Linked DNA regions of Homo sapiens: region 1 is linked to region 2. Evidence: promoter capture Hi-C in 16 types of primary human blood cells and fetal thymus (Javierre and others, 2016). All regions are on one chromosome and are shown on one strand. The core of a region is centred on a gene start or on the middle of the fragment in contact, and the rest is flanking DNA. Distances in the headings are between cores, read along the strand shown. Region 1 overlaps LINC01355 (long intergenic non-protein coding RNA 1355). Region 2 holds the start of KDM1A (lysine demethylase 1A).

What was found. The method cuts DNA at HindIII sites, captures the fragments that hold promoters and counts their contacts. A CHiCAGO score of 5 or more calls a contact.
Region 1: a contact is called between a fragment that was not itself captured here and the fragment with the promoter of KDM1A in region 2, in 2 of 17 cell types (M2 macrophages and M1 macrophages). The highest score is 5.7, in M2 macrophages.

What each region holds. Positions count from the first base shown.
Region 1 is chr1:23,279,575-23,285,346 of GRCh38, reverse strand. LINC01355 (long intergenic non-protein coding RNA 1355) reads left to right here. Exons shown (of 2, transcript NR_110616.1): 1 at 1-237; 2 at 937-4,038. Among named protein-coding and RNA genes, the nearest start is that of LINC01355, 3.1 kb to the left of the region's middle. The HindIII fragment of the contact is 1,545 bases long and covers 1,778-3,322 here.
Region 2 is chr1:23,016,105-23,021,447 of GRCh38, reverse strand. KDM1A (lysine demethylase 1A) reads right to left here and starts at 1,980. Exons shown (of 21, transcript NM_001009999.3): 1 at 1,501-1,980. The coding sequence starts at 1,851. RefSeq lists enhancers at 803-1,488, 1,489-2,176 and a silencer at 1,664-1,733. The HindIII fragment of the contact is 11,360 bases long and covers 1-5,343 here.

The sequences.
Region 1 (5,772 bases), core at 1,301-3,800, 260 kb before region 2:
TATTACAAACCAGGATGTCTAAGAGCAGAAGTCCGTGGTTGCCACCTCTCAAGCCTCTTAGCTTAATCCAATCTAGGATGCATTTCCACTCTGCAACAAACAGTATTTATTTTTGCCTTATTTGCAGATAACAGTTTTAATGCAGGTACTGCCCATGGATTAGCTTTGAGCAGTGTCTTTTTGCTTTGGTTTTTTTATTTGTTTGGTTTGTTTTGAGACTGAGTCTCAGTCCTCCAGGCTGGAGTGCAGTGGTGTGACTTTGGCTCACTGCAACCTCTGCCTCCCGGGTTCAAGCGAGTCTCCTGCCTCAGCCTCCCAAGTAGCTGAGTCTACAGGCGTGAGCCACCATCCCCGGCCAAGCAGTATCTTTTTGCTTTGAAAGTGACTTACATGTACATTTGTTTTCCTTGTGAATGTTTCTTTTTAACTGCAAACTAAGAAACATTGAGCCCAGCATTCATATATTTGCAAACTCTGTCTTACTTAATTTCTCAGTTTTTTTCCTCAGAAAAAATGAAATTCCTTTTCTTTTTTAAATTTATTTTTTCTTTATTTTTCTTTATAAAGTGAAGAGTAGGTAGCATGAATTCCTCTTGCCCTTTGCTATTTCAGTCTGGCATCAGTAGCAATTGTTGCTATGTCCAGTTTTCATTCATGGATTTTTCTGGGATTGAAGATGAGTTCAATGTTGATTATTTAATTGGGCAGTATAAGTAAATTCATTGGCTCTCCTTCCAGTTTAGTGAATACTAAATATCATCCATGATATTTTATACTTCTTACACTTCTGGAATCTAACCTGAAAATAGAAGTTGTAAGTCAGGGACGGTGGTATGTGCCTCTAGTCTCAGCTAGTTGGGAGGCTGAGGCTTGAGCCCAGGCCTTCAAGGCTGTAGTGCACAATGACTGTACTTGTGAATAGCCACTGCACTCCAGCCTGGGCAACATAGCAAGACTCCCACCCCTTAAGAAAAAAGAAGAGAGAAAAAAATAGAAGTTGTGGAGAGGGAGGAGGATGCTTGAATACTTTGACCGTACTTGGCATAATAGACATTTTGAGGGTTTTTTTGTTTTCTTAAAATTCCTCTGGATCAGTTTTCATTGTTTCTAGTAATTATATTTATCGTTAATGAATTCATATTCTGCTCTAGCCCCTAAAGATAGTTTGATATGCTAACTTTTGTTTTGCCTTTCTAGCTGCTAAGATAGATAATGGTTATTGCAAAATGCACGTTTTTAAATGGTCTCCAGTGTGGATTGCTTCTGAGCTGCTGATGGATTGAATACATTGAGAAGGAATGTGTCATTTGGAATCCAGGACCAGTCAGCAAGGATAACTGCCTGATTTTATGGTCAGAATGCTCTAACTCTTATGGCATACTGATGACTTTTTCTTCCATTTTCCAAAAAAGCAAGTTTTGTCAGTCTCAGTGTTTCTCTGATCTAGCTACTCACAATTCCATTCCCAAAGTAGTGACCTAGTTCTGTCACTTGGGTTTCAAAGGGAGTTGAAGTGTCACTGAGTGAGTACAGCAAACCTGTTTAATGATTTATAGGAAGCAAATAAAAAGAATTTTGTTTGCTAACCTAGAAGTATATCAGATTTTGGTTTCAATTTATAATTTTGCAAAATATAAAGACATTTCCTGGCTAACTCCATCCAGATGAATTATTCAGTATTTTTTCTCCTATCTTAATGAAGTTAATTTGAATGCTAATTTCCTATAACCAAGAAAACAGTTGAATTAAATAACCCTTATCTTTTAAACTTAAAGCTTATACTACTAATAATCATTTAACATTCACTTCCTTTTTTCTGACTTAATTGGTAGGTAAATAAAATACTTCAAATTTGATTGGCAAATTGGAAAATCACTTAGAACAATCTGCTAGTATTTTTTATTCCCTTTGTTTTTTCCTTTACACATTTGTACTGCAAAATAAATCAAGGACAAAGACTCACACTGAATTGATCAACTTGTGTTTGGTCTTCATGGGAATTACATCTTTTTTCCCCTCAACATTTATTAAAGGAACATACAGAATTTCAGACTATAGCAAACTAATACCTTTAGCTTGACTAAGAGTTGATTTTCGTTAAGGAACAGAACTTGTAATTTATTTCGACATACTTTAATGTATGACTCATCCCTGTTAAAGTTGTGAGACTCAAAACTACGCCCAAATCACTTAATTTTATGTCCTTCCCTGTTTACTGTGTCTGACCTTCAAGATTTCGTGACTGATGCTGAAATGGAAGCCAACCACTGCAGAAATTTGGGGGAAAATGAGATCTGAAGAATACAAGGGGAAGTAGGAATTCATTTCTAGCATTTCCAAACCTGCTTAATCGTGTCTGCTCCACCACAGTCAGAGGAAAAGACTGAGTTCATGGAAATTACCAGCTAAGCCTTACATCTGTCTTTAATGTTTTTAGGAAGTATACTGAAAAGGTAAGTGAGATGTCTGTTTTGAAGAAAGACTCTTACTGGGTACCTTAAAACCCGTTGTTTCCTATTAGTAAAGATGGGCAGCTTCTTTATTCCTAGCTTCAAAAAGCCTTGCCCCTGTTTGGTGTGTTTCTCAGTATTGTGGAGAAGGTAGTTTCTGAGCAAGGTGGTGCTTTTCCTCTGCTTCTCAGCAGCTAAGACAGAAATTGCACCGAAGTGTACAAAGGGCCAATTTTTGTTGTCCTGTTGTGCTCAAATCCTTTTTTTTAAAAAAGTTATTTCAATCAAGTCTTAGTTTTATTCCTCACTATATAGGAAAAAAATCTTTAATGCCTCAAAAGTTCCATTCAGCATTACATTTGCATTACTCTTATTTGCAGCAAATATGAGTAAAATTATAGGTTTTTAAAGGTCTCTAATAACATCCACTTATATTGGTTTTGTAGATAATCCATAAATTACCAGAAATAAATTATTCCACATTTATTACACACCCATGTAATAGATGTCGTGCCAGGCCCTGGAATATACTAATGGCATCACCTCATGTGGTAAAAAGACACATTCCGCCATCCTGGAGTATACAAAGGTAGACTAGCATATAGTTCATGTGCTCAAGGAGTTCATTTTTATTGACATGATACAGATAGAATTGTAGTTTAGGGAATCAAAATCTAATAAAATGAGGCTAATTCCATTTTCCCATTAACACTAATAACTAGTGTGTAAATCTGAATATGACACATTCTATATGAAAGAAGCTCTGTGTGCATCTACACTAAATACTCGTGTGTGCCAGGTACTGTTTTAAACTACGTATATTTTTTTAATTCTCATAACTGTTCTCTGAGGTATGTACTAATACTAAAGCTTATTGTTAAAGGAAGGCAGAAAAATTAAGTAACTTGGCCTAAGTTTGCATAACTGTGATCTGGGATCAATATTTGAACCCATACAGGCTGATTGCAGAGCCTGCACTCTTAATTTGAGTGTGATATTTATGTGCAGTACCTGGCTATAAGTACCCACAAAACGTTTCAAATTCTTTATAAAATTTGCTTAGTTAAAAAAGTACCAATTGCATAATATGGTTATAAGTCTGGTAGAAGTTAGGCTTTTTACAAGACATGCTGCTTACTGCACCAAGGAGGCAAGAAGGCTTTTTAGAGAGCCCAGAATTTCCTTTCCTCAACTCCTGCTTCCAAGACAGTCATTTTGCATGATAACCGTTTCCCCAAAAAACACAGACACAAAATTTAAAGAACTGGAACAGAGGAAGCAGAGCTTATCATAGTATATATGTTTAGTACCCTGTCACTTAGGTCCACCCCTCTTTCTTTGTGGATTGTGGACATTTTGTTTAACTGCTAAATCATGAGAATATATGACTGCTGAGACTTTTCCAAGGATTTTTTAAAAAACACATTAGGCTTTGTGCAGAAGTAAAGAAAAAGTGCTGTGAGAACCCCAGGTAGGTAATTTACTTTCTATTGTACTCATAGTTTGTTTGAAACCTCTTCACCTCTATCCCTTATTGTTTTATACTCTGTAAATCTGATTTTACCTTTAATAAACTTTTCTGAAGTGAGTGAGTTTTTTTTGTCTTATTTCCCATTAGATTCTCTACCTTCTTTGTTCACTTTACGTATGTTATTGCCACTCCCTTCAAAACTGGTGGTTTAATTAAAGTGACAGCATCTTCTATATACCCAGTACTGTTGAGGATTAAAAAATACATGTGTGCCGGATGTGGTGGCACACACCTATAATCCTAGCACTTTGGGAGGCCTCAGGCAGGAGGATTGCTTGAGCTAAGGAGTTCGAGACCAGCCTGGTCAACGTGGCAAAACCCCATCTCTACTAAAAAGACAGAAAGTTAACTGGGCCTGATGTTGTGCACCTCTCACCCCAGCTACTTGGGAGGCTGAGAGGTGGGAGGGTCACTTGATCCTGGGAGGTCAACGCTGCAGTGAGCTGAGAACAAGCCACTGCACTCCAGCCTGGGCGACAAAGCGAGACCCTGTCTCAATAGAAAAAAGAAAAAGTGCCAAGGCTTTGCTCCTAGTTCGGTGCAGGTTCCAACCAGTACTAAAACTTTGCAAATTTTTGAGGGAAAAACCAGAAGTTGTAGAATCAATATGAGCATTTAATTGTATAGCAAGCAATTGTGGCAGAAAAAATTCACCCTAGTGAAATCAAGTTAACTATTCTGTGAATGAGATTAACCAGAGGAACAATTTTGACCATGTATCTTTTAAATCACTGTTTCTCAAACTTCAGTGTGTATGGGAATCACCAGGGATCTTGTTAAAATGCAGATTTTGATTTAGTAGGTCTGGGGTCAACCTGGAGAATTTGAATTTATTTTCTCTTTTTTTAAAAGTAGTTTGAAATATATTTCACATACCATAAAATTCACTCTTTAAAACTGTCCAATTAACTGTTTTTTAGCATGTAGAGTTGTTCCACTATCACCATTCTAATTTCAGGACATTTTCACCGTGCTGAAAAAGAAACCTTGTACCTATCACTCCCCATCCCCCTCTCCCTTCCACCCTTTTCCCCTCCACCAGCATCTGGCAACTGTTAATCCACTTTCTGCCTTAATTTATATCTTCTGGACATTTCATAACGTTTTATAGACTTCTGTACCTGGCGTCTTTCACTTAGTGTTCAAGGTTCATCGATGTTGTAGCATGTATCAGTACTTCATTCCTTTTTGTGGCTGAATAATACTCCATTGTATGGCTATAGCACGTTTTCTGTGTCCCTGCATCAGTTTCCATTTTTTGGCTATTATGAATAATACAGCTATGAACATTTATGTACAAGATTTTGTGTGAAAGTATGTTTTCATTTCTGTTGGGAATATACCTAGGAGTGGAATTATTGGGTCATATGGTAACTAACATTTTAAAGAACCGGGAAACTATTTTCTAAGGTGGCTGGACCATTTGAGAGTGCATTCCTGACAAGCATCCAGGTGATACTGAATAGCAGGCTCTAGATTACATTTTGACATCTATCAAGAAAACAGGAACATGAACTTTAACTGAGTTCAGCTGCCAAAATCTGGCCAGCAGCAAAGAAGGTGGGGTGGTTTTGGTTTTCATAGGGCCTTGGTACCTCCGATTTTCTACCATTAGTCTTAATGTACCTGGGCTTATTGTTCTAGCCTTCGAACTCTTCATGTAAATTGATATATCTGCTATCTAAAAAAGAAAGAATATTCATTTTTAGTTGAAAGAGGCATTTCTAAGATGAGAATGGCCATACTGTCAGTGTGGTAACACTGTTTTTGATAGTGTCCTGAAAGCATGTT
Region 2 (5,343 bases), core at 731-3,230:
ACAGGTGATCCACCCGCCTTGGCCTCCCAAAGTGCAGGGATTACAGGAGTGAGCCACTGTGCCCAGCCAATAAATCTGTTTTTAAAAACATCTTATACGTGGCTTCTGGCCACCTGTCTATTGAAATCGTAAAATAACACTCTTGACTTCTGCCCTTTATTTCATTTCTGAGGGCTGGTGTCACCAACCTCTGTGCTTTTCTAACCCATGCTTTGGTAAAAGCTCCAGAAAGTCTTGCCTCCAAAACGGTCTTTCATCCAGCACTGGTTATACTTTAGAGAGTTGGCTCAAGTAGGCAGATAAATATGAGAGCTCTCAGACTGGGTAATACTCATCTCAAGAAGCTCCCCATACACACTGACTTGGTATTCCCACTTAAAAATTATGTAGACAATTTTTTCAGGCATAAATTATATAATCTGCAAATTTTTATTTAAATGTTGACTACACGCACATATATATCCAGGTTGTTTTTTCCAACTAGACCGACCATTAAATCTCCAGAAAAGGCCCAAGTCTAAAGTCTGCGCCCTAATACTGCCCCAGTGCCCTGCACACAGTGTCCCATGTGGTCCTTTGTTTCAAGGGCTGATGATACCCTGTAACAACATGAATGTGGGAATTACATTCCACTTCCATCACTTATTTAGCTTTGTGACTTTAGGCAAGTTGCTTAAATTGTGTGCCTCAGTTTACTCATTCCTAAAATAGGGCTAGCAATACCTGCCCGTTGATATTTAACAACAACAAAAAAAAGTAATGTTGGTGACACGCTGAATATAGCATCTAGGACACAGACATTTGAGGCAGTCACTGTCTGTATATACTGTTTGGAGTCAAATCTTTTCTTCCCATATATTTGCATTTTGACTATTATTTGCTCTCTCAATCAGCAGCTTCCTCATCTGCAAAATTCTGCGCCAAAAGATCGCTGAGAGGATTTTAAAAAAGAAAAAAAAAAAGACTAGAACTCCTACCACACAGCAGGGTTTTGCTCAAACAAAAACAAAAGCAAAAACGACCCTTTCTTTTCATCTCCCCGGCTAAGGCGATTTCTTCAGCATCAACCTACAGCCCCCTCGTGCACCCAGCTGAAACGCCATCAATATCGCCCAACAGCTTCCAGACCTATCTGTGAACAAACAAGTGAGGTCTCCAAGAACGCCAACCGTAACCCCACGTCAGGGAGCCATTTTCCAGTCAAGAAAATGAAAAGGTGTGCAAGAAAGACCTAAGGAATAAAATACCCCTCCCAGCAATCATCGATGCCCCTTCCCACGTCGCTCGGGACCCAGCACAAAGACCGCAGTCAACACCGGCAAAGACTTTTCCTTTCTCACCCCACCCGTCCAGCTAGAGGGGACGTGGCGTGCGCAGCGATACAAGGGGAGGTCTGAGTGGTCGCAGGGCCCAAGACCCGGCGGCGGCGGGGGAGGGCGGAGAAGCCTCGGGGAAGCTCGGCACCAGGCGGTGTCGTTTGAGGGAAGGGTCGAGCCTTACCTTCGCCCGCTTGCGCCGGCTGGTCCGACGCCCCTCCGGAGTCTCTGCTATTCCAGTTTCCATGGGGGTCGCAGACCCAGGCACGACAGTAGGGCCGGCCTGAGGCCCTGCGGACCCCGGCGGTTCCGCCAGGCCCCCGGGGGGCGAGGCCCGCGGAGGCTCTTTCTTGCGGGGTGTGCGCTCCCCCACCGCCCCCGGCCCGACCTCGGCTGGGCCCGACAGGCCCGCGGGCTGCGCGGCCACCTCAGACCCGTTCTCGGAGCCGCCTGCTGTCCCAGGGCCAGCCTCCGTCCCGGTTGCTGCCGCTGCAGCCGCCGCCGCCGCGGCTGCCGCCTTCTTCCCAGATAACATCTCGGGCCGCCGGGCCGCCGACGGCCGTAGGGGCCGCTCGCTCTGTCGCTCCGTGGGTCCGAAAAGCCTTGCCTCGCCTCGCTTCACGCTGCCCGCGCGCCGCCAACCGCCGTCGCGTACGCACGCGCCAAGCGCGCTCCCGCCGCGCCGGGACAAAAAGGGTCGGAGACACCCACGAGCCCCGCCCCTCCCCCGCAGCCATAGAGCGGCGTTCTCGCGGCTAGAGTGGCACCGCAGCAAAGAACGTGTAGCTTGCCTAGAGCGTCTCCCCGGCGTTTGGAGTGGGACCTGGCACAGTCCGTGGTCTTAGGGCTTCTGGGCCAGACTAAACCTCCGAAGGTGACCATTTCCTCCAGGGACTTTCGGGTTTGCATGCGTGCGTTCGTTCATTCACTCACCCAATTATTCGTTAATTCAACCAGTATTTATTAATGCTTGCCTACTACGTAACAAGGGTTACATTATGAAGTTCTAGCTTTCAAAGAACTTACAGTCTAATGGGGGAAAACACTGAAATATGTTGGTAGAGCGTCTTACTTATTCATAATTGCCCTGCTTGGACTGGGCAAAAAACTTGGAGAGCACAGCAGTTTCGATGGTAGTAAAATGGAGACAAGTTACGAAATCCAGGTTTGAGTCCAGACGGAATTGCTCTTGTCTCCAAGCCTTTGTTCATGCTTTTCCTTCTGGCTGGACCCCAACCTCATTCGCACTCCATGTCTTGCGCTTCTCCCATCCCCCATGTCCCCCATCCCCCATGTCCCCCATCCTTCATGTCCCCCATCCCCATCCACATAACACCTCTTTCTACTCCAGGTTAATTCTTTCTAATAATGATAGTAGCGGTTTATTCTTTTAATTTTTCGAGGAATCCCTTGCTAACCCAAAACTGGAACAGGTCGTGTACTTTTAGCATGCGTGTACTTATTACACAAACAATTGTCTTTTTAATAGTCTGTCTCTTCGAAGTGAAATTGTCAAAAAATTATTCCATTTACATGAAGTTCAAGAACTGGTAAAACTAATCTCCAGTAATAGGCTCCAATCAGCCCTTGCCTGAGATGGGGGTCGGGGGTTGACTGCAAAAGAACAAGAAAGAACTTGCTGGGGGTGATGGAAATGTTTTATATCTTGATTAGGGTGATGGTTACATAGGTGTATATATTTGTCAAAACTCTATGAACTATCCATGTAAAACAGGTATGTTTTATGTAACTGTAGTACTTCAGTAAAGTTGTTTTTTGTAAAAAACTAAGCAAACAGACAAAAAGGCAATCAAATGTAGAAAGGAAAAAAAGTAAAAGCTATGCAAGAAAGAAAATGTATCCGAGTGGCGTGGCACGCACTTGTAGTACCAGCTGCTCGAGAGACTGAGGTGGGAGAATCACTTGAGCCTAGGAGTTCATTCAAGTCCAGCCTGAGCAACATAGTGAAACTGCGTTTCTAAAAAAAAAGAGAAAAGAAAAAGAAAGAAAATATAATCATAGTACAACATATGGCTCAGCTGTGAACTGTATTAACATGACCATAAAAACGTAAGCAGTGAATATTGTTTTATTTATTTTTTCTGTTCTTTTGTTTGTTTGTTTCTTCTTTTTTTTTTTGAGACAGAGTCTTGCTCTGTTGCCCAGGCTGGAGTGCAGGGGTGCAATCTTGACTCAATGCAACCTCTGCCTCCCAAGTTCAAGCGATTCTCCTGCCTCAGCCTCCCCAGTAGCTGGGATTACAGGCGTGTGCCACCATGCCTGGCTAATTTTTGTATTTTTAGTAGAAACAGGGTTTCGCCATGTTGGCTAGGCTTGTCTCCAACTCCTGACCTCAAGTGATCCTCCCACCTCGGCCTCCCAAAGTGCAGGGATTACAGGTGTGAGCCACCGCGCCCCGCCGAGCAGTGAATATTGTTTTAACCAAAGTGATAGAATTACATTAAGAGAATGGAGAAAAAAGAAAGTTTGTGGGGAGAAAGATGAGAAGGTTTTAAGGATTTAGGGAAGTAGGGAGGTTGTTGGGGGAGGTGCTGCTTGGGAGCTAAATTATTTTTCACCATAAAAATATAATACATAATGTTGGCCAGGCGCGGTGGCTCATGCCTGTAATCCCAGCACTTTGGGAGGCCGAGGCGGGCAGATCACGAGGTCAGGAGATCAAGACCGTCGTGGCTAACACGGTGAAACCCCGTCTCTACTAAAAATACAAAAAAACTGGCCGGGCATGGTGGCGGGCGCCTGTAGTCCCAGCTACTCGGAGGCCGAGGCAGGAGAATGGCGTGAACCCAGGAGGCGGAGGTAGCAGTGAGCCGAGATCGCGCCGCTGCACTCCAGCCTGGGCGACAGAGCGAGACTCCGTCTCAAAAAAAGTATATATATATATATATATATATATATATATATATATATATATATATATATATATATATATAAAATACATAATGTCAAAATTGAGAAATCAAAAAATAATATAAGCATACTATTTAGAAATATCAAGGTAAATACAGAAGAAACAGCTAAAAAAGTTGGAATTGGTTGTCTCTAAGGCTTGGAACTTGACGGTGGAAAGAGGTGAGGCAGTGGATTGGAGCTTGTTTTAAATCCTGTAGTTCTATCTGACTTGTTTGCACATTTAATAGTTTGATAAAACTTGAAATTAGATGTTAAAAACATACATACCCTTTGACCAAGTAATTCTACTTTCAGGAAAGCATTCTAGGGAAAGATTCAGTATGTGTACAGATTTAACTTCAACACTGTGTATCTCAGGTTATACGTAATGACGATAAAGGAGAACTAACCTAAAAACCCAACAAAGGCCAGGCACAGTGACTTGCATCTGTAATGCCAGCATTTTGGGAAGCCGAGGTGGAAGGATTGCTTGAGCCCAGGAGTTTAAGGCTACAGTGAGCTATGGTCACGCCACTGCACTCCAGCCTGGGCAACAGAGCAAGACCCTGTCTCTAAAACAATAAAAATTTTAAAAAGCCCCAACAAGTGGTAACCAATTTGATACAATCATACACCGCATAACAATGTTTCCATCAACAACAGACTGCATATGAGATAGTGTTCCCATAAAATTATATAACACATTTTTACCATACCTTTTCTACCTTTTCTATGTTTAGACAGAATTGCTACAGTATTCAGTACAGTAACATGCCATACAGGTTTGTAGCCTATTAACAATACACTATACCATATAGCCTAGGTGTGTAGTAGGCTATACCATTTAGGTTTGTGTTAAGTATGCTCTATGATGTTCACACAACAATGAAATTGCCTAATGGCGCTTTTCTCAGAATGTATCCCATCGTTCAGTGAGGCATGGTCCTAGCAAGGCATGATTCTATATTGGAATATCACAGCCACTAAAACTGATATTTTTACATAAAGAATTCCTGGCCGGGTGTGGTGGCTCATGCCTGTAATCCCAGCACTTTGGGTGGCCGAGGCGGGTGGATCACCTGAGTTCAGGAATAGGAGACCAGCCTGGCCAACA